Regions from separate parts of the Homo sapiens genome. Here all the other regions are linked to region 2. The links are contacts of gene promoters, found by promoter capture Hi-C in blood cells and fetal thymus (Javierre and others, 2016). All regions are on one chromosome and are shown on one strand. Each heading gives the region's core, a stretch centred on a gene start or on the middle of the fragment in contact. The rest is flanking DNA. Distances are from core to core; before and after follow the strand shown.

What was found. Contacts are between HindIII fragments. The CHiCAGO score rates a contact against its expected background, and 5 or more counts as called.
Region 1: a contact is called between a fragment that was not itself captured here and the fragment with the promoter of NUDCD3 in region 2, in 3 of 17 cell types (monocytes, fetal thymus and naive B cells). The highest score is 6.6, in monocytes.
Region 3: a contact is called between a fragment that was not itself captured here and the fragment with the promoter of NUDCD3 in region 2, in 13 of 17 cell types (M1 macrophages, M0 macrophages, M2 macrophages and 10 more). The highest score is 9.5, in M1 macrophages.
Region 4: a fragment that was not itself captured here is called in contact with the fragment with the promoter of NUDCD3 in region 2 in 2 of 17 cell types (monocytes and naive CD4 T cells); the score reaches 6.7 in monocytes.
Region 5: a fragment that was not itself captured here is called in contact with the fragment with the promoter of NUDCD3 in region 2 in 2 of 17 cell types (naive B cells and total B cells); the score reaches 6.6 in naive B cells.
Region 6: the fragment with the promoter of LINC00957 here is called in contact with the fragment with the promoter of NUDCD3 in region 2 in 1 of 17 cell types (M0 macrophages); the score reaches 5.4 in M0 macrophages.
Region 7: a contact is called between the fragment with the promoter of MYO1G here and the fragment with the promoter of NUDCD3 in region 2, in 10 of 17 cell types (naive B cells, monocytes, total B cells and 7 more). The highest score is 9.6, in naive B cells.

Annotation. Positions count from the first base shown.
Region 1 is chr7:44,994,889-44,998,814 of GRCh38, forward strand. It overlaps LOC102723334 (a long non-coding RNA gene), which reads right to left. Exons shown (of 4, transcript XR_428139.4): 3 at 141-256. Among named protein-coding and RNA genes, the nearest start is that of CCM2, 3.3 kb to the right of the region's middle. RefSeq lists enhancers at 42-91, 172-221, 262-321, 342-391. The HindIII fragment of the contact is 2,431 bases long and covers 752-3,182 here.
Region 2 is chr7:44,488,946-44,492,483 of GRCh38, forward strand. It overlaps NUDCD3 (NudC domain containing 3), which reads right to left and starts at 1,713. Exons shown (of 6, transcript NM_015332.4): 1 at 1,464-1,713. The coding sequence starts at 1,655. RefSeq lists silencers at 1,295-1,464, 3,530-3,538. The HindIII fragment of the contact is 1,642 bases long and covers 454-2,095 here.
Region 3 is chr7:44,088,670-44,092,363 of GRCh38, forward strand. No RefSeq gene overlaps it. Among named protein-coding and RNA genes, the nearest start is that of POLM, 8.0 kb to the left of the region's middle. The HindIII fragment of the contact is 6,706 bases long and covers 1-3,694 here.
Region 4 is chr7:44,891,702-44,895,458 of GRCh38, forward strand. No RefSeq gene overlaps it. Among named protein-coding and RNA genes, the nearest start is that of PURB, 8.0 kb to the left of the region's middle. The HindIII fragment of the contact is 9,175 bases long and covers 1-3,757 here.
Region 5 is chr7:44,919,272-44,923,223 of GRCh38, forward strand. It overlaps the pseudogene MRPS23P1. Among named protein-coding and RNA genes, the nearest start is that of PURB, 36 kb to the left of the region's middle. The HindIII fragment of the contact is 3,245 bases long and covers 1,010-3,952 here.
Region 6 is chr7:44,036,616-44,040,345 of GRCh38, forward strand. It overlaps LINC00957 (long intergenic non-protein coding RNA 957), which reads left to right and starts at 2,434. Exons shown (of 3, transcript NR_072982.1): 1 at 2,434-2,534; 2 at 3,279-3,730. It also overlaps the pseudogene RASA4CP. RefSeq lists an enhancer at 1-268 and a silencer at 3,720-3,730. The HindIII fragment of the contact is 32,056 bases long and covers 1-3,730 here.
Region 7 is chr7:44,976,997-44,980,751 of GRCh38, forward strand. It overlaps MYO1G (myosin IG), which reads right to left and starts at 2,019. Exons shown (of 22, transcript NM_033054.3): 1 at 1,871-2,019; 2 at 1-75. The coding sequence starts at 1,965. RefSeq lists a silencer at 1,962-2,051 and enhancers at 2,252-2,321, 2,352-2,401, 3,629-3,755. The HindIII fragment of the contact is 4,854 bases long and covers 1-2,592 here.

The DNA of each region.
Region 1 (3,926 bases), core at 717-3,216, 510 kb after region 2:
TCTCATTACGAGGGAATAGGAAGGGGACTTTGTAAGGTTTGGGCTGGCCCTGAGTAATTCTGAAGAGGGGACAAGGGGAAGTGAGTATCATGGCTATAAAGTTGCTTTCATGAAGTGTGGGCAGTTTAGTAATTGGGTACCTTGGTCGCTTTTGTTCAAGATGTAGGAGCCACACAACAGGCTGGGGAGGTTATTGGTAAGAAAGCAGTAATCATAAGTAGGTGGCTGTTAGGACACTTTACAGCCAAGGTGTGACCTGGAGAGAAAGAAAAGATTGTTTTATGTTATAATTGTCTCATTGGTGTCTGTTACGAGAGACTGAATATACAAATAGACAATGGCTGGACCATTTGTACAACTAGAACTCTGACTGACAACCTGCAGAAACCTCCTCAGGAAACCAATTCGTTATCTACAGCAACCAGCCCAGGAAACAAGCCTGCTGTAAGTCATACTTGCAGGAAGCCAGGTGTTATCTCTAGTGACAATCCAGGAGTAACTTTTCTAACAGCCCCCAAAGCCTAGGACTTAATTAATAACTGGCACCCTATCTCTCACCAGATACAAAAATCAACTCAAAATGGATTAAAGACTTAAACATAAGACCTGAAACTACAAAACTACTAGAAGAAAACATAGGGGAAATGCTTCAAGACATTGAACGAGGCAAAGATTTTATGGCTAAAATTTCAAAAGCATAGGCAACAAAACCAAAAATAGACAAATGGGACTATATTAAGCGAAACTAAAAAGCTTCTGCACAGCAATGGAAACAATCAACTGAGTGAAAAGACAACCTTTAGAATGGGAGAAAATATTTGCAAACTATTCATGCGGCAAGGGACTAATATCCAGAATATACAAGGAACTCAAACAACTTGACAGCAAAAAACCACAAATAATCCATTAAAAAGTGGGCGAAGAATCTGAGTAGACATTTCTCAAAAGAAGATGTACAAAAAACAAATAGGTACATATAAAAAAATACTCAATATCATGAGTCATCAGGGAAATGCAAATCAAAACCACAATGAGATACCATTTCACCCCATTTAGAATGGTTATTATCAAAAAGGCAAAAAATAAGGGTGTTGGCGCACCTGCAGTCCCAGCTACTTAGGAGGCTGAGGTGGGAGGATCCATTGAGCCCAGGAGCCCAGCTCCTTAGCTCAAGCTGCGGTGAGCTAAGATCATGCCACTGCACTCCAGCCTGGGTAACAGAGGGAAGCCCTGTCTCTAAAAAAAAAAAAAAGACAAAAAATAAGGTTGAGCGTGGTGACTCAAGCCTATAATCCCAGCACTTTGGGAGGCTGAGGCGCGAGGATTGCTTGAGCCCAGGAATTTGAGAGCAGCCTGGGCAACATAGAGACCTCATCTCTACAAAAAGTAAAAAAATTAGCCAGGTGTGATAGCAGACACCTGTGGTTCCAGCTACTGGGGAGGCTGAGGTGGGAGGATCTCTTGAGTCTATGAGATCAAGGCTGTAGTGAGCAGTGATCATACCACTGCACTCCAGCCTGGGTGACAGAGTGAGACCTCATGTCAAAAAAAATTAGTATATATACACAATAGAATACTATTTGGCCATAGGAAAAAAAAATGAAAATGTCATTTGCAGCAACATAAATAGAGCTAGAGGTCACTATGTAAGCCTGTAATCCCAATACTTGGGAGGCTGAAGTGGGAGGATGGCTTGAACCTAGGAGTTGGAGACCAGCCTGGGCAACATAGTGACCTCATCCCTGTAAATTTTTTTTTAAACAAAAAAACAAAGACAAGTATTGCATTTACTCACTCATATGTGGGAGCTAAACAAATATTCATCTCATTGAGATAGAGACTGGGATGATAGCCACCAGAGGCTGGGAAGGGTGTGTGTTGGGGGAAAGTAGGGGGCTGAAGAGAGGTTGGTTAGCGTGTACAAACATACAGCTAAATAGAAGCAATAATTTCTCATGGGTGTGTGTGTGTGTGTGTGTGTGTGTGTGTGTGTGAGACAGATCTGGCTTGTTGCCCAGGCTGGAGTGCAGTGGTGCAATGACAGCTCACTGCAGCCTCGACCTCCTGGGCTCAAGGACCCCACTTCAGGCCCCTGAGTAGCTGGGACCACAGGTGCACACCACTATGCCCAGCTAATTTTTGTATTTTTTGTAGAAGAAGGATCTCACTATATTGCCCAGGCTGGTCTCCAATTCCTGGGTTCACGTGATCTTCCCAGCTTAGCCTCTCCAAGTGCTCGGATTACGGGTTTGAGCCACCACACCCAGCCTAAATTCTAATGTTCCATAGCAGAGTAAGATGACTATAGTTAATAACAATGTACTGTATATTTCAGAATAGCTAGGAGAGATCTGAAATGTCTCCAACACAAAGAAATAAGTGTTCAGGTGACGAATATCCTAAATACCCTGATTTTATTATTACACATCATATGCATGTATCAAAATATCACATGTATTTTGGCCGGGTGCAGTGGCTCATGCCTGTAATCTCAGCACTTTGGGAGGCTAAGGTGGACAGATCACATGAGGCCAGGAGTTCGAGACCAGCCTGGGCAACATGGTGAAACCCTGTCTCTACTAAAAATACAGAAATTAGCCGGGCGTGGTAGTGGGCACCTGTAATTCCAGCTACTCCGGAGGCAGGAGAATCGCTTGAAACTGGGGGGTGGATGTTGCAGTGAGCTGAGATTGCACCACTGCACTACAGCCTGGGCAATACAGAGTAAGACTCTGTCTCAAAAAAAAAAAAAAAAAAAAAATTAGCCTGGTGTGGTGGTGCATGCCTGTAATCCCAGCTACTTGGGAAGCTGAGGCAGGAGAATTGCTTGAACCTGGGAGGCAGAGGTTGCAGTGAGCTGAAATCATGCCACTGCACTCCAGCCTGGGTGACAGAGTGAGACTCTGCCTCACACACACACACAAATCACATGTACCTCATAAATATGTACAATTATTATGTGTTAGCTGGGTGCGATGGCTCATGCCTATAATCCCAGCACTTTGGGAGGCTGAGGAGGGAGGATTGCTTGAGCCTAGGAGTTTGAGACCAGCCTGGGCAACATAGTGTGACCTTGTCTCAACAAAAATATACTAAAATTAGCCAGGCTTGGTGATGCGTCCTTGTAGTCCCAGCTACTTGGGAGGCTGAGATGGGAGGATTGCTTGAGCCCAGGAGGTTGAAGCTTCAGTGAGCCATGACTGCATCACTGCACTCTAACCTGAAGGACAGAGTGAGACTTTATCTCTAAAAATACAAAAGAAACAAAAAATTATTTGTCAATTAAAAAAAAACTGGCAGCTTTCCTAGTTTTCGGTCCTGCTTCCAGCTTAGGAGCAACCAGAGAAAGACAAATATGTGCCCCTAACCAATCACTTGGGATGCCCTGCCCCTTGCTTCCCCAGGCCAACAGCCTCAAATGAGGACATCCCTGGAGGCTTCCCTTTTTTCACTATAAAGCTTACCCACTCCTCTGCCTGACATTGAGTCTCATCCAAATACAAATGATGGTGGCTGACTCCCTTGTTATAGCAAGCTAACAGCCTTTTTGCTTTTCTCATTTTATTGTCTTTATTCCCAGTTATCACCATCTGATCATTAGCCAGTGGACTTTTGCTTGAAGCATGAACCTGTGTATGCAAAGACAGGGCAAAGGTATTCTGATGGATAAGAACAGCCTGAGGAAGTCAGCACATCCAGAGTTAGGCTAAGAGAAGTTTTAGTAGTGTTGTTTACTGTATTATGGAGTGATAAATATGCATTTGTGGAAGACGGTGGAAGACTTTAAATATCAGGCCTTTGTTCTGTGAATGGTGGGAAAATAATGACAACCAGATGCGCTACATCATTTGCGTGTGTAAATGTGGCAAGCTGGATTATTGCAGAAGGCAGATTGAAAGGGTGTTTCCACTATCTCTGCTTTATCT
Region 2 (3,538 bases), core at 463-2,962:
CATCTGATACTATACATATTACTCAGTATATACTCCTTTCTCCTCCACATCTTTCTGCAAACTACAATCAATCTAGACAAAAGTGTTCTCATCCTACTATGGAATGGTTAAACAACAGAACAGGAAGATTTGGAATCCACAAAATGAAATTTTTAGTTTCAGCTCTACGGTGAACTGGCTGTGTGTTCTTGGTCAAATCACTTAACCTTGCTGAATTGGTACGTAAACTTGAAACTTATCTGTTTCACAGAGACACTGAAGATCAAATGGCAAGACTTCATTAACCTGCCATAAGATCCTGCTAAAGGCCACCTCCAACAGCTCTCTCATCACTAAGATGGCACTTATGCCACTGACAAGGACGAGGAATAGCCTTAAGTTCTGAAATTGAATCCTAATGGAACCCCATTCCTCGTTTGGCCCTATTACCCTGGTAGCTACCAAGACATTCAAAGCTTTGGCTTCTGCTGAGGAAAGTAACATCTTACCAACCTGCAGCATGCATTAAGACTTCAGGAGGAAACATCTGAAGCATTTTATAAACTGTAACATCTAGAGAACTGAGGGAGGTATCATCAGCATTTCTATCTTCTTGGGTTTCTACAAATAGGCTTAATACTTGGCTGAATAGTTTCTTTTAATCTCATCAGAAGTCCCACCTCTCTTATAAAAACTTCACTTCTCAACCATCATTTCTATTTCCTTTCTTTACAATGGGCTCCATCAAATAATTGCCCTTAAAAAGTTTTCTATTACTTTCTGGGTTTTCTCTCTTTAACTGTGTCACAAGGAGAGAGAAACCATTACTTAAACACCCGTATCACCCTCACCTGCGGCAACTAAGAGTGTAAACTACATTCAGCAAAAGGTTGCTTACCACTACATTCAAAAGTGCCCAGTCAACTTCACTGAATGAGTATTGACAGCGTTTCCAACATACAATAAACTTAACCTGGAGGGTACGGAATTAAGCTCAAATAGAAATTTTAATAAGCACTACATTGACAGTCTTTGACCTGGGAAGTCACATTTCAAACAAGCGACCACACCCATTGATCAACACAATGCCTCCGTCATCCCCGCCAGCTCAAGTCTTTGGTAGTTCTGGGGCATGCACGTTTCTGTTGCTGTAAATGTCCTTCCTTCTGTCTGGCCTGCATGGATTTCGCTCCCTGACTAGCGGCCCCCAGCACCGTGAGGGGTACGCGCTGGCGGGTGCTGAGTAGGGCTCTTAACAGTCGGCTTACTACTTCTGAAACCTCAGGACGTCCGGAGCGAACACCTCAGCGGAATAAGCTGACATCCAATCCGCGCTTCAAATTACTGAAGCCATTCTCACAAGCTCAACCCCAGGACACCAGGAAAAGGAGGAAACAGGCTGGGAGAGCTTGGAGGAGCGGGCGCCAGGAGTCAGGGCAGGCCGGGGGCGGCGGCTCCCCAGACCGCAGGCCCGCCCGCCTCACCTGCAGCACCAAGGCCTGCGCGGCCCCGGGCGGGAAGCCCATGCGGTCCGATGGGTGGCGCAGCAAGCGATAGAAGTCTGTCTTGCGGTAGAGGAAGCCAAAGAGAACGCGCAGGAAATCCTGGACGTTGCCCACGTGCTGCAGGATGCCCAAAAGGGCCTGGTCATACAGCTCGGCCGCCCCTGTCTCCATGTCGCCTCCCGCCCTAGGTACGCTTCACACACACAGCGCCGCCTCAGACCTGCCGACTGGCCACTTCCGGCGTCCGCAGCCAACGGCTCCGCCGGACGGCGCGGCTGCGGAACTTCCGGTCCGTGCTCGTTCGGCCCCCGCGGCCCCGGGCTGTTTTCCCCAGACCCAGCTGCCCCACGGGCTTTGCCTTGAGGTGGTCTTAGACAAAAGAGCCCGACAAGGGCAGCAAGGAGGTTCCTACGCGGAAGGAAGCCCGTGGCTTCTGCTGCGCTGCGAGGGCTTGACCGCCATGTTTGAAGCGGGCGGAAAAAAATTATGGGGCGTGCAGTGTCACGTGACTGCTCGGATTTTTGTCACGTTGTCTGTGGATCCTTTCTTATTTCTGTGTTGAATTCCAGCCTGGGTATTTGGAACCTATGGTTAAAGATGGGGCTAGGGTAAGCTTTTTGTTAGTGAGCCAGAGACGGGAAAATGCGTATATGTGGGATGTATGGGTTTCTTATTAACAGATCTGTGAGTTAAACTCAGGGCGTTGCATCAGAAGAAAGTCAAGATGACGAAGAAAATAAAGAGTGCATTCAACGTATATTAAGTGGAAAGAGCTAGATTCAGAATAGAGAATCCGTATGCCATCGTTGTGAAATATGTACGTGTATGTGTGTGTATAGTATGTATATACATATATACGTCATATATACATATGTTGTTAGTGTCTGTCAAAGTATAATCTTAAAAAAGTAAAAAGCATGACACTCATACAAATATATCATGAACACATATCCAAGATTTCTTCAGCAAATTAACAATGATATGGTAAAGCTGGTTCAAAAGCATTTTGAGGAAGTGGAGATTAAACATTTTGACAAAGCATTAGAGTAAGATTAGGTTGGATACAAAGCTGGCTGGTGTTCTACAAGATGATAAAACCATAGATTATCATTTCTAGTGTATAGAAATGATTTGCACCTCTTCTAGATTAAAACATGCAAGTTAACATGTCTTCATAGTGTATAAGCTTTAATGAATTGTAAATAAAATCCAACTCAGGTAAATTGCCCTAGAACAGTGGTTCTGAAACTCTTGATTTAGGGACCATTAATCCTCTTAAAATTTGTTGAACATTCCAAAGAACATTTGTTGATATGGGTTATGCTTATCAATATTTACCACATTAGAAATTAAAACATAAAATGTTTAAATATTTATTTAATCATTTTTAAATGACCATAAAACACATTACATGTTAACATACTTTTATGCAAAAAATAATGTTCTTCAAAGCAATAAAAGTTCAGTGAGAGGAGTAACATAGTTTTACATTTTTGCAAATCTCTTTAATGAGCCTACTAGAAGACAGCAAGATTTGGCCGGCACAGTAGCTCATGCTTGTAATCCCAGCACTTTGGGAGGCCGAGGCGGGAGGATCAGGAGTTCGAGACCAGCCTGGCCAACACAGTGAAACCCTGTCTCTACTAAAAATACGAAAATTAGCTAGGCGTGATGGCAGGTGCCTGTAATCCCAGCTCCTCTGGAGGCTGAGGCAGGAGAATCGCTTGAACCCGGGAGGCAGAGGTTGCAGTGAGCCGAGATCACACCACTGCATTCCAGCCTGGGCGACAGAGCTAGACTCCGTCTCCACAAAAAAAAAGAAGACCACAAGATTCTCACATCTGCATTCACTGCAACATAATTTGCATTATGTTGTTTTCATTGAAGTATATGAAAACATGCAACCTCACACAGACAGTTGCAAATGAGAGGAATATTTTGTCTTTTCAAATAAATGTGGCTATTTGTCTTTAAAATGACATCAAAATTCTTCTACAAGCGATAGTTTCTATTTTTTTTATTTTTAAGAGGCAGGGTCTCCCTCTGTCACCCAG
Region 3 (3,694 bases), core at 144-2,643, 400 kb before region 2:
TGGGCTGCTTGCCAGCAGCATTTGGGAGAGTGTGTGGCCAAACTGCTGATGCTGCTGGCCCTGAGCTCCTGAGGGCTGTTGGCCCCAGCAGTGCTGGCCCTGGGCCTTCTCTGATCTATTCCTGCACATTGCTGTGGCTAAGAGTAACCTGGTATATTTGTATCCCATGACCGCTATAACAAATTATCACAAACTAGGTGGGTAAAAACAACAGAAATTTATTCTCTCCCAGTTCTGGAAACTACAGCCAAAACTCCAGCTATCAGCAGGGCCACCCTTCCTTGAAGGCTCTAGGGGGGATCCCTCCTCGCCTCTTCAAGCTGCTGATGCTCCTGGTGCTCCTTGGCTTGTGGCAGCATCACTCCACCCTCTGCCCCGCCTGCAATGGCCTCCTTCCCTCTGGGCCTGCTCTGTGTCTGTCTTCTCCTTCTCTCTCTCTTTTTTTTTTTTTTTTTTTTTTTGAGATGGAGTCTCGCTGTGTCACCCAGGCTAGATTACAGTGGTGCCATCTCGGCTCACTGCAACCTCTGCCTCCCAGGCTCAAGTGATTCTCCTGCCTCAGCCCCAACCAGTAGCTGGGATTACAGTTGCCTGCCACCATGCCAGGCTAATTTTTGTATTTTTAGTAGAGACAGATTTTCACCACGTTGGCCAGGCTGGTCTCGAACTTCCGGGTTCAAGTGATCCACCCGCCTCAGCCTCCCAAAGTGCTGGGATTACAGGCATGAGTCACCATGCCTGGCTGTCTTCTCCTTTTCTTATAAAGACACTAAGACACTAGTCATTGGATTTAGGCTTTTTTTTTTTTCTTTTTTTGTCATCCAGGCTGGAGTGCAGTGGCACAATCATAGCTCACTGCAACCTCATACTCCTGTGCTCAAGTGATCTCCAGCCTCAGCCTCCTGAGTAACTAGGACTACAAGCGTGTGCCACCATGCCTGGCTAATTTTTGTATTTTTTGTGGAGATGATGTCTCACTATGTTGCCCAGGCTGGTCTCAAACTCCTGGCTTCAAGTGATTCTCCCACTTTGGCCTCCCAAAGTGCTGGGATTACAAGCATGAGCCACCTTGCCTGAAAGACCATCCCAACTCAGGATGATCTCATCTCAAGATTCTTATTTTTTTTTTCCTTTTCTTTCTTTTTTTTTTTTTTTTTTTTTGAGATGGAGTCTCACTCTGTCACCCAGGCTGGAGAGCAGCAGCATGATCTTGGCTCACTGCAACCTCTGCCTCCCATGTTCAGGCAATTCTCCTGCCTCAGCCTCCCAAGTAGCTGGGACTACAGGCACATGCCACCACGCCCGGCTAATTTTTGTATTTTTAGTAGAGATAGGGTTTCACCATATTGGTTAGGCTGGTCTTGAACTCCTGACCTCGTGATCCACCCACCTCAGCCTCCCAAAGTGCTGGGATTACAGGCATGAGCCACCGTGCCTGGCCAATATTCTTATCTTAATTACACCTGAAAAGACCCTTACACCAAATAAGGTCACATTCTGACATTCTGGGTGGAAATGAATTTGGGGGGCCACCCTTTAACCCGCTGGCCTGAGTCCCACTTTGCCAGGGATCAATTCTGGACTCTGTGACCTGGGGCAAGTGGCCAGCCTTTCTTTATTTGTGTAGATCCATCAGAGCTGTGGGATTCGTATTTTTGACAGTAGATGCACTAGTGGCTTGCCTGGGACCTGGCTGGTTATATAACAAAAAGAGACGCTTTATTTTTGAGAAACCATTACTGCCTTTTAAGGAGTGTGTGCATTGCCGCTTGCTGGATGGGTTCCATATAAGAACCGGTGGTGGCGGGGGTGGTGGGGAGAGGGTAGTTGGAAGCCTGGGACAGGACTCGGAGTGGGAAGACTGGGCCAGAGGTCCAGAGAAGAATTCCCAGCTCCCTGCCAGGGGATTTGGCTGCAGAATTCCTTATGGAGGAGCGAAGTGTCCTTAAAATGAAGGCTGTTTGGGTTCATCTGTTTAACCAGCCCAGGCTCAACCAGCAGTTCAGGTATGGCTGGCAATGGTGAAGGGTCCAGGGGGCTAAGAAGGCTTATGAGAAGAGGGATGTTTGCTGACCTCAACTCTACCACAAGGTGACAAAATTGTCCACTGTTTCCATCATGAATTATTTCATTTAAGTTAAGGGAAGACTATAATGTCATTACATTCCTGGATAAACAGACCCAATGTCATTTATTTAGTATTTTCCCATTTGCCACTGTCATTCTTGAAATAAAATAGATCCAAACATGGGGAGTTCCATTTATTAGCACCAAGGAGAAGCCCTGGGCTAGAAAGTTGCTGGAAGCCCCAAGGCTGTCATGGATGCTGTTTCTTGGGATGGAGAGTCCTGAGAGGCTGGACGTGCTGCCTGGTACATGGAAGGTCAAGGAGGAAGGAGGGTTGGAAGCCAGGAGTATGGCCATGGAGGGAGTCTCCAAAGTCCTAGTCAGGGGTGGAACCCAGACCGGAAGTTGGGGTAGAAGACAGGGATGGGAAGTGACAGCTGCTAACATTTATGGAGGGCGAGAAATAGGCCAAGGACTGTGCTAATTATTTTTTATGCTGTATTTTTGTTCTTTTTCCAATTATATGGAATTGGCACTACTGTCATTTTTTTCTATCTTACAGATAGGGAAACTGAGATTTTGAGCTAAAATAATGTTGCCAAAGTAGTCACACGCATAAGAGGCAGAAATGTGATTTCAACAGTGGATATTTGACCACAGAGCCATCCTCCTAACCATTCACCCAACAGAAGTGTGTTGAGGCGCGGTGGCTCACCCCTGTAATCCCAGCACTTTGGGAGGCCAAAGGGGGCTGATCACATGAGGCCAGGAGTTTGAGACCAGCCTGGCCAACATGGCAAAACCCCATCTCTACTAAAAATACAAAAATTAGCCAGGTGTAGTGGTACATATCTGTAATCCCAGCTACTCGGGAGGCTCAGGCACGAGAATTGCTTGAGCCCGGGAGGCGGAGTTGCAGTGAGCCGAGTTCACACCACTGCACTCCAGCCTGGGCGACAGAGTGGGACTTTGTCTCAAGAACAAACAAACAAACAAAAAGGTGTGTTGTGTGCCTGGCTTTCTTCTAAGTGCAGGAGGTATAGCAGATAAGACATACAGAAACCCCTGCCTCATGACATTCCTGTGGGGCAGGACAGACAATTCCCTAGGGAGGACATGGCCTATGCTGGGTATGGTTGGTTATAGCAAACATGGCTGCAGGAGTCCCTTCCATCTGTGACCCTTCCGCAGAGTGACTTTGATGCTTCCCCCAGCAAGAGATGGGGTTAGGCCTCCCCTTGATTCTGGGCTGGCTCTGGGACTTGCTTTGGCCAACAGAATATAGCAGAAATGACATCTTGGCACTTGTGGGCTTAACCTTGCAAGGGCTTGCAGCTTCCACTTTTGCCTCTTGGAAGCTACTGCCATGTGAAAAAGCTGGTCTGGTCTGTGGGTGCTGAGAGGCCACGTGGACAGAGGACCGAGGTGCCCAGGTGACAGCCAGCACTGAGTCCAGCTCCCTGCTGACCATCATTGCATGGGAGACCCCAGCTGACACCGTGTGGAGCAGCCAATTCACAGAATCGTGAGGAATGCTCTCTCACTGCTGTTTGAAGCCATTCCATTTTGGGGAGGTTTGTTACACAGCCATGGATCACTGAAACAGTGGTGAGAACGGCCAAGTGCA
Region 4 (3,757 bases), core at 674-3,173, 400 kb after region 2:
AGTGAGGCCTGGAGTAGGCACAGAAGTTGGGCACTCAGGAAAGGAATTGGGTCCTAGAACATGAGAAGGCATCCTTTTTCTTCTGAGATCAAGGAGAGAAAAGGAGATACTGGAGCTTCCAGTGGAGAGGAGGGAAGTTGGAGGAGTTCTTGGTGAAAGGGCCTAAGAGTGAGGCCACACTAAGGAGGAGGCTGCAAAGACCTGTGAGGCCTGGGCTGGACTAAAAGCCTGCTGAACAGCCCCAGGGCCTGGCCAAGACTAGGGCAGAAGCAGGATGGGCTAGATCTGCACCTTGGAGGAGCTGGGAGTCTGGGCTGGAGGCAGCAGATGGAAGTGGGCCTTGCCAGGGCTGGGAGATGGTTGTGGGGGTGCCAGATCCTGGGGACAGTAGCCTCAGATGGCCAGCCATGGGCAGACAAAGCTGGGCATTCAGGAGAACCAGGCCTGGAGAATGAGGAAGGGTTTGCACATTGCAGGGTGGGCACGCCTTTTTTCCCTCATTGCTTTTCCTTGTAGACTTTTTACTTGTTTATTTTTGAGACATGTTCTCGCTCGGTTGTCTAGGCTGGAGTGCAATGGCGTGATCTCTGCTCACTGCAGCCTCTGCCTCCTGGACTCAAGCAATCCTCCCACCTCAGCTCCCAGAGTAGCTGGGATTACAGGCATGTGCTACCACACCCAGTTAATTTTTAAAATATTTTTTGTAGAGATGGGGTTTTGCCATGTTGCCCAGGCTGGTCTCGAACTCCTGAGCTCAAGCAATCTAACCGCTTTGGCCTCCCAAAGTTGGATTACAGGCATGAGCTCGGCCTTCCTTTTAAACTTAAAATGTAAACTTACAGAACAGCTGCAATAATAGTATTCTTCACACAGATTCCCCAAAATGTTAACATCACGGTGTTTGTGTCATTACGCTTTTCATCTTTATGTTTCTTCATCTCTGTCTCTACACACACACACACACACACACACACACACACACACACACACGCTATTTGACATTTTTCTTTCTCCTGAACCATTTGAGAATAAACTGAAATATGATGACCACTTACCTTTAAACACTTCAGTGTCTATTCAAGGTCATTCTCTCACCTATCTAGAGCACAACAATCAAAATCGAGAAACCAGCACAGATCTGACAATGTTGTCTAATCTGCAGACTTTATTATTCAGATTTCACCAAGTGTCTTGATTGCATCCTCTACAGCAAAGGAGACTTTTGCAGCATTAACTGCCACAGGCCCACCCCCAACCACCACTTCTTTTTTAAGACAGAGTCTCACTCTGTCACCCAGGCTGGAGTACAGTGGCGCTATCTTGGCTCACTGCAACCTCTACCTCCTAGGTTCAAGCGACCCTCCTGCATCAGCCTCCTGAGTAGCTGGGATTACAGGTGTGTGCCACCATGCCCGGCTAACTTTTGTAATTTTAGTAGAGATGGGGTTTCACCATATTGGCCAGGCTCGTCTCAAACTCCTGACCTCAGGTGATCTGCCCACCTTGGCCTCGAAAAGTGTTGGGATTACAGATGTGAGCCACCGCGCCCAGCTACCCCACTCTCTTTAATCTGGAGCCATCCCTGGGTCTCTCTTTGTCTTTCACATGAGTGACATTTTGAAATATGAAGGCCGATTATTTTGTAGTTTGTCCCCATTTGTGTTTGCCGGGAGTGCTTCCTGACCACAATCTGAAAACTCCTCACGTCCTGGCTGGCTCAACTTCCCGTAGTGAGTGAGACGTTGCCTGTTGTGCCTGATGCTGAGAAGAGGACGAGGAGATGGTTGAAGGTCCCAGGGTCAGGGACAGGCTGGCAGGAGAGCTTGGGGATGGTCAAAAGGGGATTGCGATGGATGGAGACTGCATATGTGCTTCCTGGGCCCTCCTGCTTTGAGCTGCTTAGAAGCTGCAGTCTTCTTTGCCTTTCCTGCCCATCAGGCATTAAACTGAACTAGAGGGAACAAGACAAGATGACAGTTAGGAGAAACTGGTGTCCAGGATATGCCATCCTAGCGGGTGCTGACACTGAGATTCCCAGGCCAGGCACCCCGTGCTGCAAATGCTTTGCAGCTTGACACTCTGGGCCAAGTATCCAGCTGGCTTGCTTTGAAGCCTCCAGTGATGTTTTTTGGATTTGTGTGGCTGAAAGGAAGTTTGTGCATCTTGCACAGTCTAAAGAGATTGCCTAATTCTGGCTCTGGGCAGAAGGCCCACACCTGCCGTTTATTCTGGGGATTTTTGTCTTATGTAAGGTAGAAAATCAATTCCTTGTGTTAGTATTGGGTTCCAGGAAGCGGAGTTCTCAGCCTCAGGGCTTATCAATCAAATCAGCTGCCCTCCATGATTTGTAGTTCCTCTTCTGGCACGCCCAGAGGTTGGGAAGCTGCGTTAGGCACAGTTGCTGTGCCCTGTGGAGTCTGCACTCACCTAGTGCTCCCTGGGGGCCTCATGAGCCCCTGGAAGATTGATATGTTAAAGGACTGGAGCCTTGAGGCCCTGCGTGTGGCTCACGCCTGTAATCCCAGCACTTTGGGAGGCAGAGGCAGACGGATCATTTGAGGTCAGGGGTTTGAAACCAACCTGGCCAACACGGTGAAACCTCGTCTCTACTAAAAATACAAAAATTAGCCGGGCATGGTGATGGGCACCTGTAATCCCAGCTACTTGGGAGGCTGAGGCAGGAGAATTGCTTGAGCCCGGGAGGCAGAGGTTGCAGTGAGCAGAGATTGTGCCGCTGCACTCCAGTCTGGATGACAGAGTAAGACTCTGTTTCAAACAAACAAACAAACAAACAAACAAACAAAAAACTGGAGCCTTGAAACATTCCAAACCTTCACTGCCCAGTGTTCCTGGGACAAGTTACTTCACTTCTGTGGGTCATGCCCTCCTGGAGGGCAGGCACTTGCACCTTACAGAGCTGCCTGAGCAGTAAGGAAGGTATTGTGTGCAGGCCACTTGTGGATGTGTTTGGTACATCCATGCTCAAATATGTTGCTGCTGTTATTGATGTTATTCATGAATATGGTTGAGCTTTCTCCATAAATCTCCTGGCTGGCTCCATATTCTATAAGACTCTACTGGTTTCAGCTAATGTTGGGTGGAGAGAACCTGCAAATAAAACACAGATGTACTTGGATGAGGGAGTTGAAACCCCCAAATGCAATGATCTTCAAGGGAACAGGATGCCTAGGAACATAGTGGTTGGAAAGCATATCAGCTGGTGATGAATAAGCAGGTCTGAGGCAGTCATAACCAGGGTCACTGGTGTTTGAACCCACTCATTTATATCCTGAAACAATAGGGGAAGGACTTACACACATGGCCTTCTGTGGGGTGGCTTCTGCCCTTCATGCCCTGTCTCTCAGCCAACAGCTGAGTATGAGAAGCCTCCTCCTAGACTCCCAGCTGCCCCTGACCCCTGGCCAGGGCCAGCTGTTGTGCCAACAAAGCCTCCAGTCAGGGGCTCTGGTCCCAGCTGCTGTGGGGAACAGGTTTGACCTTTCCAAGCGCCCATAGGTCACTTGTGGTCTTTCTGTGGAGACAGCCAACAGCCCATCTGTTCTTGCTTCTCATCTCACTCAGAAAATCCTAGCGCTCCCCCTGCTCCACTGGAACCCCTCATTTCCTGGGGATTCTATTTCTGCCTCCCCTGAACCTTCCAGAAGGGCCTTCTGGCTCAGAACCAGACCCCTGCCTGGTTACTCCGTCTGCCCTTCTGCCTGATTAGAGCAAGGGTCTCGCACAGGCTGGACAATGC
Region 5 (3,952 bases), core at 1,382-3,881, 430 kb after region 2:
CTTGATCATTACATGTTCTATGCAGATGTCTGGGTTTTATTCTGATGGAGATGCCACTGGAGGTATTTCAGGCATTTGCACAGAAGTATCCCCCCACCATACCCCCTTTCAGAGCTGCACTTTAGAAAGATTGATCTAACAGGAATATGCAAAGTTAAGTAGAAAACAGAGAAACCAGAAGCAGTTAAGAAAGTGTCCTAAGAATTCACGGAGTGGAAAATCACCTAGATGTCTTTTATGGGAGGCGTATCCTGGGGAGCATCTGGAGAATCTAGGAGGAGCACCCTTGAGGACCACTCAGGAAGCACTCAAGAGGAACATCTACAGCTGGCTGGAAATCGCAGGGAGCATCTTTTTGCAGACTCAGTATGTGATTTGAGCAGGAGTGCTGTAGGAGAAATTGAAGGAGAAACCTCTCTAGCATCACATACATAACACCTTTCCCCTGTGGAAGGAGCCAGTCTTCCAGAGGCCCCACTTATGATATGGCAAAGCCAAAATTCTCATGGAGGACATCTGGTATCATGAGGATCCCATTGGAGCAAAATTCTTTTTTTTTTTTTTAGATGAAGTTTTGCTCTTTTTGCCCAGGCTGGAGTACAATGGCATGATCTCGGCTCACTGCAACCTTCGCCTCCTGATTTCAAGTGATTCTCCTGCCTCAGCCTCCCGAGTAGCTGGGATTACACCAGCTACTTACGCCACCACACCCAGCTAATTTTTGTATTTTAAGTAGAGACGGGGTTTTGTCATGTTGGCCAGGCTGGTCTCGAACTCCTGACCTCCGGTGATCCACCTGCCCTGGCCTCCCAAAGAGCTGGGATTACAGGCATAAGCCATCGCGCCCAGCCCATTGGAGCAAAATTCTATTCAGCCTACAAATCTGGTCAAAAGCTTTTGATCTGTTCAATCCAAGCTTCAAGCCTACCTGTCAATGCTTTGTGAAGTATATTGAGCTGCAGAAACTTAAAGAAACAGATGAAGAGAAGTTATTTGTAGAAACAAGGAAAGCTTTATTGGCAGAAAGTGTCATTTTAAGATGCGTAGGAGAAACAAGGACTCAACAGGAAGGTAGTCACGTTTCCTGGAAATCTGAACACATGATTGTCAGACCCCAAACTGTGTTGAAAGAAAACCAGCCTCAGAAAGAAAGAAGTTCCACAGGACCAGCATTTGGAAGCACCTGAAGGACAGTTAAAAGGTCTTGCAGCTCCGTGAAGGGTTTGTATATTGTGGATACTGACATACACACTCTACTCACTAGCTCAATGTTGAGCTGTTTCTAACAGTTGAACTACATAAACGTCTCTTGATCTTGAAGGCATTATATTTGCCTTCTCTTAGTCCTTACTTCTGAGTTGTCATAAAGCTCGGTATCATGGTTTGACAGAAGCAGTTATGATCCAGAGGATTTATATAAAAGAATAATAAAAACTGAAAAAAAAAGGAGTTATGTGAACTTTCATGGTAGGACATCATTAAATAAAGAACTCCAGCTGGGCGTGGTAGCTCATACCTGTAATCCCAGCACTTTGGGAGGCCCAGGCGGACAGATCACTTGAGGTCAGGAGTTTTGAGACCAGCCTGGCCAAGATGGTGAAACCCTGTCTCTACTAAAAATACAAAAAAATGGCCGGGTGTGGTGGCTCATGCCTGTAATCCCAGCACTTTGGGAGGCCGAGGTGGGTGGATCACCTGAGGTCAGGAGTTTGAAACCAGCCTGGCCAACATGGTGAAACCCCTTCTCTACTAAAAATACAAAAAAATGGCATGGTGCGGTGGCTCATGCCTATAATCCCAGCACTTTGGGAGGCCAAGGCGGGTGGATCACTTGAAGTCAGGAGTTTGAAACCAGCATGGCCAACATGGTGAAACCCCTTCTCTACTAAAAATACCAAAAATTAGCTGGGCATATTGGTGGGCGCCTGTAATCCCAGCTGCTCAGGAGACTGAGACAGGAGAATCGCTTGAACCTGGAAGTCGGAGGTTGCAGTGAGCTGAGATCGCACCATTGCACTCCAGACTGGGCAACAAGAGCGAAACTCTGTCTCAAAAAAAAAAAAAAAAAAAAGCAAAAGCAAAACAAAACAAAAAAATTAGCCAGGCGTAGTGGCACATGCCTGTAATCCCAGCGATTCTGGAGGTTGAGGCAGGAGAATCACTTGAACCTGGGAGGCAGCAGTTGCAGTGACCTGAGATCATGCCACTGCTTTCCAGCATGGACAGCAGAGCAAGACTCCATCTATAAGTAAATAAATAAATAAAATTCCCTAGGTGCTTAAAAACAAAGGAAGAGGAAAAAAAAGGAGGTGCATCTAACATCTAGGAAGAGCACCTGGGGGAGCACCTACTGGGAGCACCTGAAGGAGCAACTCAAGGGCCACTGGCAGGAACCTCCGGGAAGCGCAGAAGGCATGTGTGGGGAGAGATTGGTGGGGGTTGGGTGTTCTTACCTACTGAATGGGCGGGCTAGATCAAGAGGTGACAACCTGGAAGAGAAATGGGGCTAGAGACAGGCTGGCTGTAAACCAGTGGTTGTCGAGGAGATAGCATCAGTGAGGGAGGTGCCCCAGTGGGAGAGCCGCCCTGAAAAGGGAGGAGGGTGTCTCTCCACTGTTGAGCCAGAGCCACAAAGAGGGTTGACTCTGCCATAGAGCGGCCTTTCTTCCCAGCTATTATGTCGGCTCTGCAGGGACCCTCACACTTGATGAGTCAAGGGGCTTGTGCCTTACTGAGCAGCCAGAGGGATCCCTCTCTGAGACCCTCAGACCTGCTCCTTGCCTGACCAGTGCCAGCCCTCCTCCCCTTCCTCACCAGGGGATGGCTGAAGCATGGAAAAGTGGCCGGCAGCAGATGGTTGGGGGTGGTGGTGGGGGGCATGGGGACTCAACGCCCTGGGTTGCTGAGTCCTGTGAGACCTGTGGCCCCGGGACACCCCACCCCAGGCCTGGGCTCTCAGCAAGAATGCCATGTGGAGCCTGTCAACTAGCCCGTCAACTAGCACTCTCGCGCCCCCTGGTGGCCGTCCCTGATGAGGTGGGTATAGGACATGGTCCCAGTGAGAACTTGTGGCAATCCACAGTTCATGCCTACGTTCATTCATTCATTCATTCTTGAAATATTTGGGGAGTACCTGCAGGCCTCCGAAGCTCTATGCTGTCCACTCTGGCACCCACACGTGCTCTGAGCACTTGAAGTGCAGCGAGTCCACTGGAGAAGTACAGTAAGTGTAAAGAGTACACTGGCCGTCAAAGACATAGTGCACACAATGTAAAATGTAGTATCGATCATTTTCATATTGATGATACATTGAAATTATAATGTTTTAGATCAACCATTTTAAATAAAATATGATTACAATCAATTTCACCTGTTTCTTTTTTACCGAGACCAGCTGGGTCGGGGAGACCCTAACCTAGTGGTGCTAGAGGAATTAAAGACACACACACAGAAATATAGAGGTGTAAAGTGGGAAATCAGGGGTCTCACAGCCTTCAGAGCTGAGAGCCCCGAACAGAGATTTACCCACATATTTATTTTTTTTTTTTTTTTTTTTTTTTGAGACGGAGTCTCGCTCTGTCACCCAGGCCGGACTGCGGACTGCAGTGGCGCAATCTCGGCTCACTGCAAGCTCCGCCTCCCGGGTTCACGCCATTCTCCTGCCTCAGCCTCCCGAGTAGCTGGGACTACAGGCGCCCGCCACCGCGCCCGGCTAATTTTTTGTATTTTTAGTAGAGACGGGGTTTCACCTTGTTAGCCAGGATGGTCTCGATCTCCTGACCTCATGATCCACCCGCCTCGGCCTCCCAAAGTGCTGGGATTACAGGCGTGAGCCACCGCGCCCGGCCTACCCACATATTTATTAACAGCAAACCAGTCATTAGCATTGTTTCTATAGATATTAAATTAACTAAAAGTATCCCTTATGGGAAACGAAGGGATGGGCCAAATT
Region 6 (3,730 bases), core at 1,184-3,683, 450 kb before region 2:
AAGCCACTCCCACAGTGTTCAGGCCACTCCCACAGCACCCGCTCCCCTCCCCGCACCTTGCACTGCAGGTAGGCAGTCTGGGGCCTGCCGGCGTCGTCCGTGTAGATGACCTGCATGACGTGCGAGCTGCCAAAGTTCTTTTCCTCAACCTTTTCTGCTGCCCGGATGTTGGCTAACTTGATGAGGGCGCTTTTCTGGGGCAGTCAGGGAGGAGGAGGCTCAGGGACCTAGCCAGGGGCATTCCATTCCCCATCTCTGGGCCTCAGTCTCCCCTTCTGCAGCACCAGGGGTAGGCGTGGGAGACCCAGAGTGACCTCAGCCAGGGCAGAGCACAGACTGATGGTGACCAAGTGCCCAGCAACTGGGAGAGGAGGACCTGGCCTCTCTGGGGGGCACTCCCAGAAGGCCTCGGAGGTGTGAGCTTTGGGGTAGTGTCTGGACAGCCAGCATTCCCTGGGCTACAAAGTCAATCCAGCCGTGGCCAAGGCTTTGTGACTTTGCATTTATTAATTTTCCAACTTGCTTTTGTAGTCCCAAGCTCTAACAGTCATATCCTGACCGGGCGCAGTGGCTCACACATGTAATCCCAGCATTTTGGGAGGCCGAGGAAGGCGGATCACCTGAGGTTGGGAGTTCGAGACCAGCCTGACAAACATGGAGAAACTCCGTGTCTACTAAAAATACAAAATTAGCCGGGCATGGTGGTGCATGCCTGTAATCCCAGCTACTTGGGAGGCTGAGGCAGGAGAATCGCTTGAACCCGGGAGGCGGAGGTTGCGGTGAGCCAAGATCGCACCATTGCACTCTGGCCGGGGCAACAAAAGTGAAACTCCATCTCAAAAAAAAAAAAAAAAATGGGACCAGAATTAAATAATGCCCATGTAGTCAAATCTTTCAACCCTGGCAAGGAAGATGTATAATAATCATCTGAGTGCTTTGGGAGGCTGGGGCAGGAGGATTGCCTGAGGCCAGGAGTTTGAGAACAGCCTGGGCAGCATAGCAAGACCCCATCTCTGCAAAAAAAAAATGTTAAAGAAAATTAGCTGGGCTTGGTGGCACGTGCCTGTAGTCCCAGCTACTCAGGAGGCTGAGGCAGGAAGATTGCTTGAGCCCAGGAGTTTGAGGCTGCAGTCAGCTATGATCGCACCACTGCACTACAGTCTGGGTGACAGAGCAAGACCCTGTCTCAAAAAATAATTATCATCATCTGAGGGGTCTTTGGTCGGAAGGGGCGGGCCCCTCATCTGGTGGGACCCCTGAGCTGGTTGAGAACAGGGTGGGTGATGAGCTCCTTCACCTACTCCTAGCCTGCTCTCACCTGCCCAGGGCTAGGCTGGGTACTCCTGGAAGATCATCCCCATAGCCTGCATGACTAGGGGCAGGTGTACAGCAAGCAGTCACCAGGTCCATGGAGGAAGTATGTCCTCAGCCCTTCCTGGGAGAAGAGAGCTTGCAGGAGAGGTGACCCATGACTCAGAGAGGGCTGTACAAGGTGATCTTTGAGATCCCCTCCCACACCAAGATTCCATGCTTCTATATTCCTGCCCGTTCCAGGAAGCCTCCCCTGTTTGCCCTAGCCTCCTACTCATCTAGCAGCCCAGGTGATGTACTATCTTTAATAATACCATTTGCCTAAATAGTACTACCTGCCAGGCCCTGGGTCAGGACCCTTAGGGAGATCATCTCATTTAATCCTCAACAACCTGGTAAGGTCGGATCAACTTCCTCCATATTCATTTTTTTTTTTGAGACGGAGTCTTGCTCTGTTGCCCAGGTTGGAGTGCAGTGGCACGATCTCGGCTCACTGCAACTTCTGCCTCCCGGGTTCAAGCGATTCCCGTGCCTCAGGCTCCCGAGTAGCTGGGACTACAGGCACCCACCACCACACCCGGCTGATTTTTTGTATTTTTAGTAGAGACGGGGTTTCTCCATGTTGGCCAGGCTGGTCTCAAACTCCTAACCTCAAGTGATCCACCCGCCTTGGCCTCCCAAAGTCCTGGGATTACAGGCGTGAGCCACCGTGCCCGGCCCTCCTAGGTTCTGACAAGCAGTACAGATGCCACACACCTGGCTTTCTTCTCTGACCCCGGGGGTACCTCAAGTGGGCTCCAAGGAAGGGGACAGGTGCCTCTAAGGTGCCCCACTTGCCGGCCTCTCAGAGCCCCACTTGCCGGCCTCCCTCCTTACCCACCTTGGAGCTGGGCGTCTTCGCGAAGCTGAGGGCCTCGGTAGTGAGGGAGAAGTAGAGCTTCTTGAAGGAGGAGGACATGAGGGGGCCCTTGCCCTTGGTCCTGTGGATGAAGAGTGGCCCCTCCTTCACAGGTGGCGCCTGCAAACTCAGCGTCCGCTGCAGGTCCAGCTCTGCCAGGCCAGGGAGGGAGGGGAATAGAGAGCCCAGGGAATGAGGGCGGGACTGGGGGGGGGGGGCGGAGCAGTGGGCGGGGCCATGGGGCTCAAGGGCTGAGCAAATCTGAACAGCAGGCAGTGGACGTAGTCATGGGGCTCAAGGGCGGAGCAAACATCAACAGCTGGTGGTGAGCGGGGTGACAGGTGGACTGAGGAAGGCAGGGCCATGGGCTTGGAGGCGGGACACGCGTCAGTAGCAGGTGGCGGCGGGGCTATGGAGCTCAAGGATGGAGCAAATGTCAACAGGCACAGATGATGGGAGGTGAGGCCATGGGTCTAGGGGTGGGGCAAACGTCAACAGCAGGCAGTGGGCAGGGTCACAGGAAGCACAAACAGTGGTGCGTGGGTCTATGGCCTGGGGGCCTGGCAAATGTCAACAGCAGGCGGTGGGTGGGGCCACGAGAGGAACAAACAGCGGTGGGTGGGGCCGTGGGGCTCAAGGGCGGAGCAAACGTCAGCAGTAGGCTGTGGGCGGGTCTGTGCAGGGCGGCGCTCACCGTCCTTCTCCTCGATGTCCACGAGCTTGGTGATGAAGTCCTTCAGCTGCGCCACGCCCTGGCGCACGGTGGGCTGCAGCGGCTCCATCCAAGCCTCCTTGGCCCTGGAAGCCGGCGTGTCCATGTTGCCCACGTTCTGGACTGCCTGGAGGTGACAGCAGGAAGGACCAGGTTCTGCTAGGTTAGGGGCCTAGCCACTGCACCCCCTCCCACCCCCCCTCCCCAAGTCTTTGCTACTCAGCTGTAGCGATGGAGGCAGAGGCGACAGAGGCCATGCCCACGGGCCCCCTCCAGCCCCACTAGGGATCAGGGAGGAGAGGATCATGAAGTTTGATGCCTTATGATAACTGAGACCACTTGGGCCTTCCTCTGTAGGTTTAACTGACGCTGCTGCACTGGATACCCCACCCCGGTGCCGGGCACATAGGTGCAGCCTGAGAGTAAGCAGACCTGGGTTGGAAGGTCCCGCGATTCACCACCGACAGGATGGGCGGCCTTGGCAACCCCCGACCCCTCGCAGGCCTGTTCCCTTATCCATGAGATGGAACTCGGACAAGGTGGCCACAGGAAGGCTTTGCAAACTGTGAAGTGCAGTGCCTACGTGGGCGTGCCAGTGGCCTCGCCGGAGCCGGTAGGGAACACTCTGCAGTCCAGGCCAGGGCCCCGGTAGGACACCCAGCTGTGCATCCCGCCCGTGGCCGCAAGGCCCGCACCTTGGCCAACAGGAGCAGGGTGCGGCTGGTGCGGGCGTCCGCGTGGCGCTCCCGCAGGTGGAAGAGCTTGGGCGACATGATGGCGGGAGAGAAGAAGCGCAGGCACAGGAAGCT
Region 7 (3,755 bases), core at 769-3,268, 490 kb after region 2:
AGGGGCAGCTCCTGGTAGGGGTTCACGGACACCAGCACCTCACCGATGTAGGTGTAGATGCGGCCCTTCTCGAACCTGGACACAGCAGGGGTAGGCCTCAGCACTCACAGGCTTACAGGCACCCACAGGCCTTTCGCCAGAGCCCATATCAGGGCCTGGCCCCAGTAGGCCAGCGCTCCCACCCTGACGGGCTGAGAGTGGAGAAGGAAGAAGGGGGCAGGTGTTGACCTTGCGTCTCCCTGGTGCCATCCTGGGTGAGCTGAGCCACTCAGAGACTGTCTCCATTGCGGCATAGAGTTTGGGGTCCACAGTGGTCTCCCCAGGGATCCCAAGGTCACTGGAAACATGACCACTCATTTTGCAAAGGAAACAGACTTGCCCAAGACTGCACTGGGTGCCGTGAGTCAGGGCTGGCTCCTGGGGTGAACCCCGCAGGGCAGATGGGGAGATGGGGTTGAGAAGTGACTGGGCTGGGAGGGGAAGGAGGGGCCTCCTCGGCTGTTTCCTGTCTCAAGGCCTGGGCGGGAACCCAGAGACAAAAGGGGACCCCACCCAGCCCCACCCAGATGACAGGGAGGGAGTTGATGTCGTTGTCTTTACACCCCCGACCCCCCAGCCTGTGGCCAGTGGCTGCTGCCTCTCCCCTGGCACAGCCTCAGACTTCTTGACCCTTTCCTTCACAAACCTGGTCCCCAGTGGGGGTGGATGTCTGCCCTTCTCTTGACCTTTCTGCCCCTGGGAGGAGGACTGGCAGGCCTGCCCCTCAGACCCATCTCCCCTTGGTGTGTGGTACCCACCCTTCCCTGGATGGCCCTGTCTCCCGGCAGCCTGTCCTGGGTGGGCCTGTCCTGAGGTTCCTCTTTCTCCACCACCTCTGACATGGGTTTTCCTGGGCCTAGCTCCCATCCTCCTACAAGCTGGGGATGAGGGCACAAGTCACCCACGTCTCCAGGGCTCAGTGTTCTCCTCATCAAAATAGAGAGGACAATGTTTCATAAGCTCATTTTATAAGAATGAGGTAGAACAATGTGCACAAAGTGCTTAGCTCACGTCCTGGCTAGCCCTCCTCTTTGAGCCAGGCTCGTGGTCTCTTGCCTTCGGTGCTTAGTGGGGATCCTGGTCCCCAAGCTCTCCCCAGGGAGCTTCCGGAGTACACAGCGAGTGGCCTTCTGCCCCTCCCTGGGAGTCCTGGCAGGAAGCCCAGCTGCCTGTATGGCCACCCTACTGTGCCATGCCCCTACCTCCCGGGCTTCTCCCTGCCCTCCACCTGCCCTCCTTGATGGTAAATTGGGCTCCAATATCACTTCTACCAACTGTGTCCTGTGATACTCCATGTACCCCAGGAGAATGTCACCTCAACTTGGTGGGAATGTTTGGACCCTAGGGTGGAGCCTGACTGCTTCATCTCAGTGTCCCCAGGGCTCAGGCCAGGCCCCATGGATGAGATGCATCGAGGGAGCATCAACAACTGGCTGGGAAGTGGCTGGAGGGAGGTGCCCCTGGTCCCTCCTGGAAAGATAGTGCCTGGTATGTATCTGTCCAAGAAGTGTCATGCCCTGGCCCCGTCGGGCAGGAAAGAAGGGGCAGAAGATGCCTGGACTGTGTGGGAGGCAGGGGTGGGTTGAGGTGGTGGGCAGCTCCGGTGCTGACTTGCCAGCCCTGACAGGGACAGTTGCCTCCTTGTCTGTTCCTGTCCCCTGGGGCCGTGCTTTGAGGCACTCATTTCAGCCCCATCTGGTCTGGGTGGGTGTGTGCCACTGCCCCCTCCCTTGGACAGCAGCGTGCCTTCCTCTTTCCCTCAGGTCTCTGCGAGGACGCAAGGTGGGAGACCCTGGAGGAGGGGAGCCACTGCCTCCTGCCCTGGGCCTACCTGAGCTGCAGGTTCCTCATGAAGTCCTCCATGGTCACTTGGTCCAAAAGCACAAAGTCAGGTTTGCCATACTCAGGGCCTTCCTCGTCCTCCATCCTGCCGGCTGGAAACACCTTGCCTCACCTTCCTGTGCCTGCTGGAAGGACAGTGAAGGAGAGGGGGAGGGAAGGCTAGGGGAGGCCCCACCGCCCCCGCCCTGCCCCACCAGCCTCCTCCAGTGCTGGTGTAAAGTAGGAAGTGGGTTCTAGTCCTGGGAGGGGCTGCCCTCCGCACTTGCCACTCCTTCCCCCTCGAGGTGCTCTAAACCCTGCTTCCTGTCCCTGCGCCCCACAAGGAGGCTGTGCCTAACGGTCTGACCCGTTTGCACGCCAGGGGCGAGGGGCCGGATGCTGGGTCCTCCCCGCTTTGGAGGGTTCTTCGCTGGCCTCCTTCGGAAGCTCCCCTCCACCCACAAGCAGGAGACAAGACTCCGTGGGTTGGCTTCCAACCCTGGCAGCACGTTAGAGTCACTTGTGGGACTTTAAAGAAAGATTTTTTGACGTGATCTTGGTTACCTGGCTGTGTGTGTCTCTCAAGTCAGAACTGAACACTAGATGCAATATACTGTATGTACATTGTACATTAATACAAAAATGAAAAAGGATCCTAATGCCCAGGCCTTTGGGGTGGGGGCAACAGCCTTCTTTGCAGTGTGAAGGCCACACTGGGGTGTAGACGAGCAAAGCTTCTTGTGTGACCTGCCAAGGGCCAGTGGTCCTAGCACTGCAATTCCCCACCCCAGCCACGGGGGAGGGACAGAGGACCCCAGAGCATCCTCTGCATGGGGCTGGCCTTCAGTGGGACCCCTGTGCCCCTAACTGTCCTCTGCCTTGTACTTGTGTCCAGCCGATCCCCCATAAACTGCAGTGAGGACCAGGAACATGCCTGGAGCCCTGTGGCCTCATCTCAGAGCTGCTGTCCCTGCACTTTGAAGATGAGGCAGCGCATTTGGGGAGCGGCTGCATTTAGGGAGTGGCCAAAATCTCCAGACACTGCATTCCTGACACTTAGTGCTCCTGGAAGAAGTGGGAGGGGTGCAGTTCTCTTAGCTTCCAGGCAGACTGGAAAAAGTTCTTTTTCATCCCAGGACAGACTGGGGCAGGTCACACCCATCCTCTAGGAACACTGGGGCGATTCTCTCATCAAAGGTCAAATGGATGCAGTTCTCTCTCATCCTACAAATAGACTGGTGACATTTCTCTTTCACCCCTTCCCTCATACAGGGAGGTCAAAGGGCAGACTCCAGAATTCCCAAACTTCAGTCATTCATGTGCTGCCTTTGAGATTTGTTGTACTCATAAGCACTAGTTTAACTATTGTCTTTCAGTCATCCCATTTTTTAAACTTTGAAGTAATGGATAGGCAAGTTAAGTTTATTTTTTTCTCTCGAATACCTTAAAGCAAATGCATTCCTGATAAAACTGAAAGTACTTATTCAAGTACCTAATAAAACTGAGTCACGCACCACTGCAATAAGGGGCCACTGGCCTGAAAAATCCCCAAATTTGTAAGTGGGCAGCCTCTGGCTCCACCCTGGGCCAGACCTGGGGCTCCTCTTGGGCAAATTCAAAGTCAGTCCTTCGGAACTCTGACAAGTGTGGCCTCCTCCCCACCCCCAGGCTCTTGGGCTGGTGCTTTTGAAGGGTTTCCCAAACCTACACTCAAGTCTGGGAATTCTCACCCAGACTCTTGCCAGCTCATCTGTCTTTTCAAGTTTCACTTCCCCAACCCCCAGGGAGTCAAGCCAACCAGTGGAACCAAGATGGCTGTATTCCAGTAAAACGTTAAGGACACCGAAATCTGAACTTCGCAAACTTTTCATCTGTCACGTAATCATACTATTTTG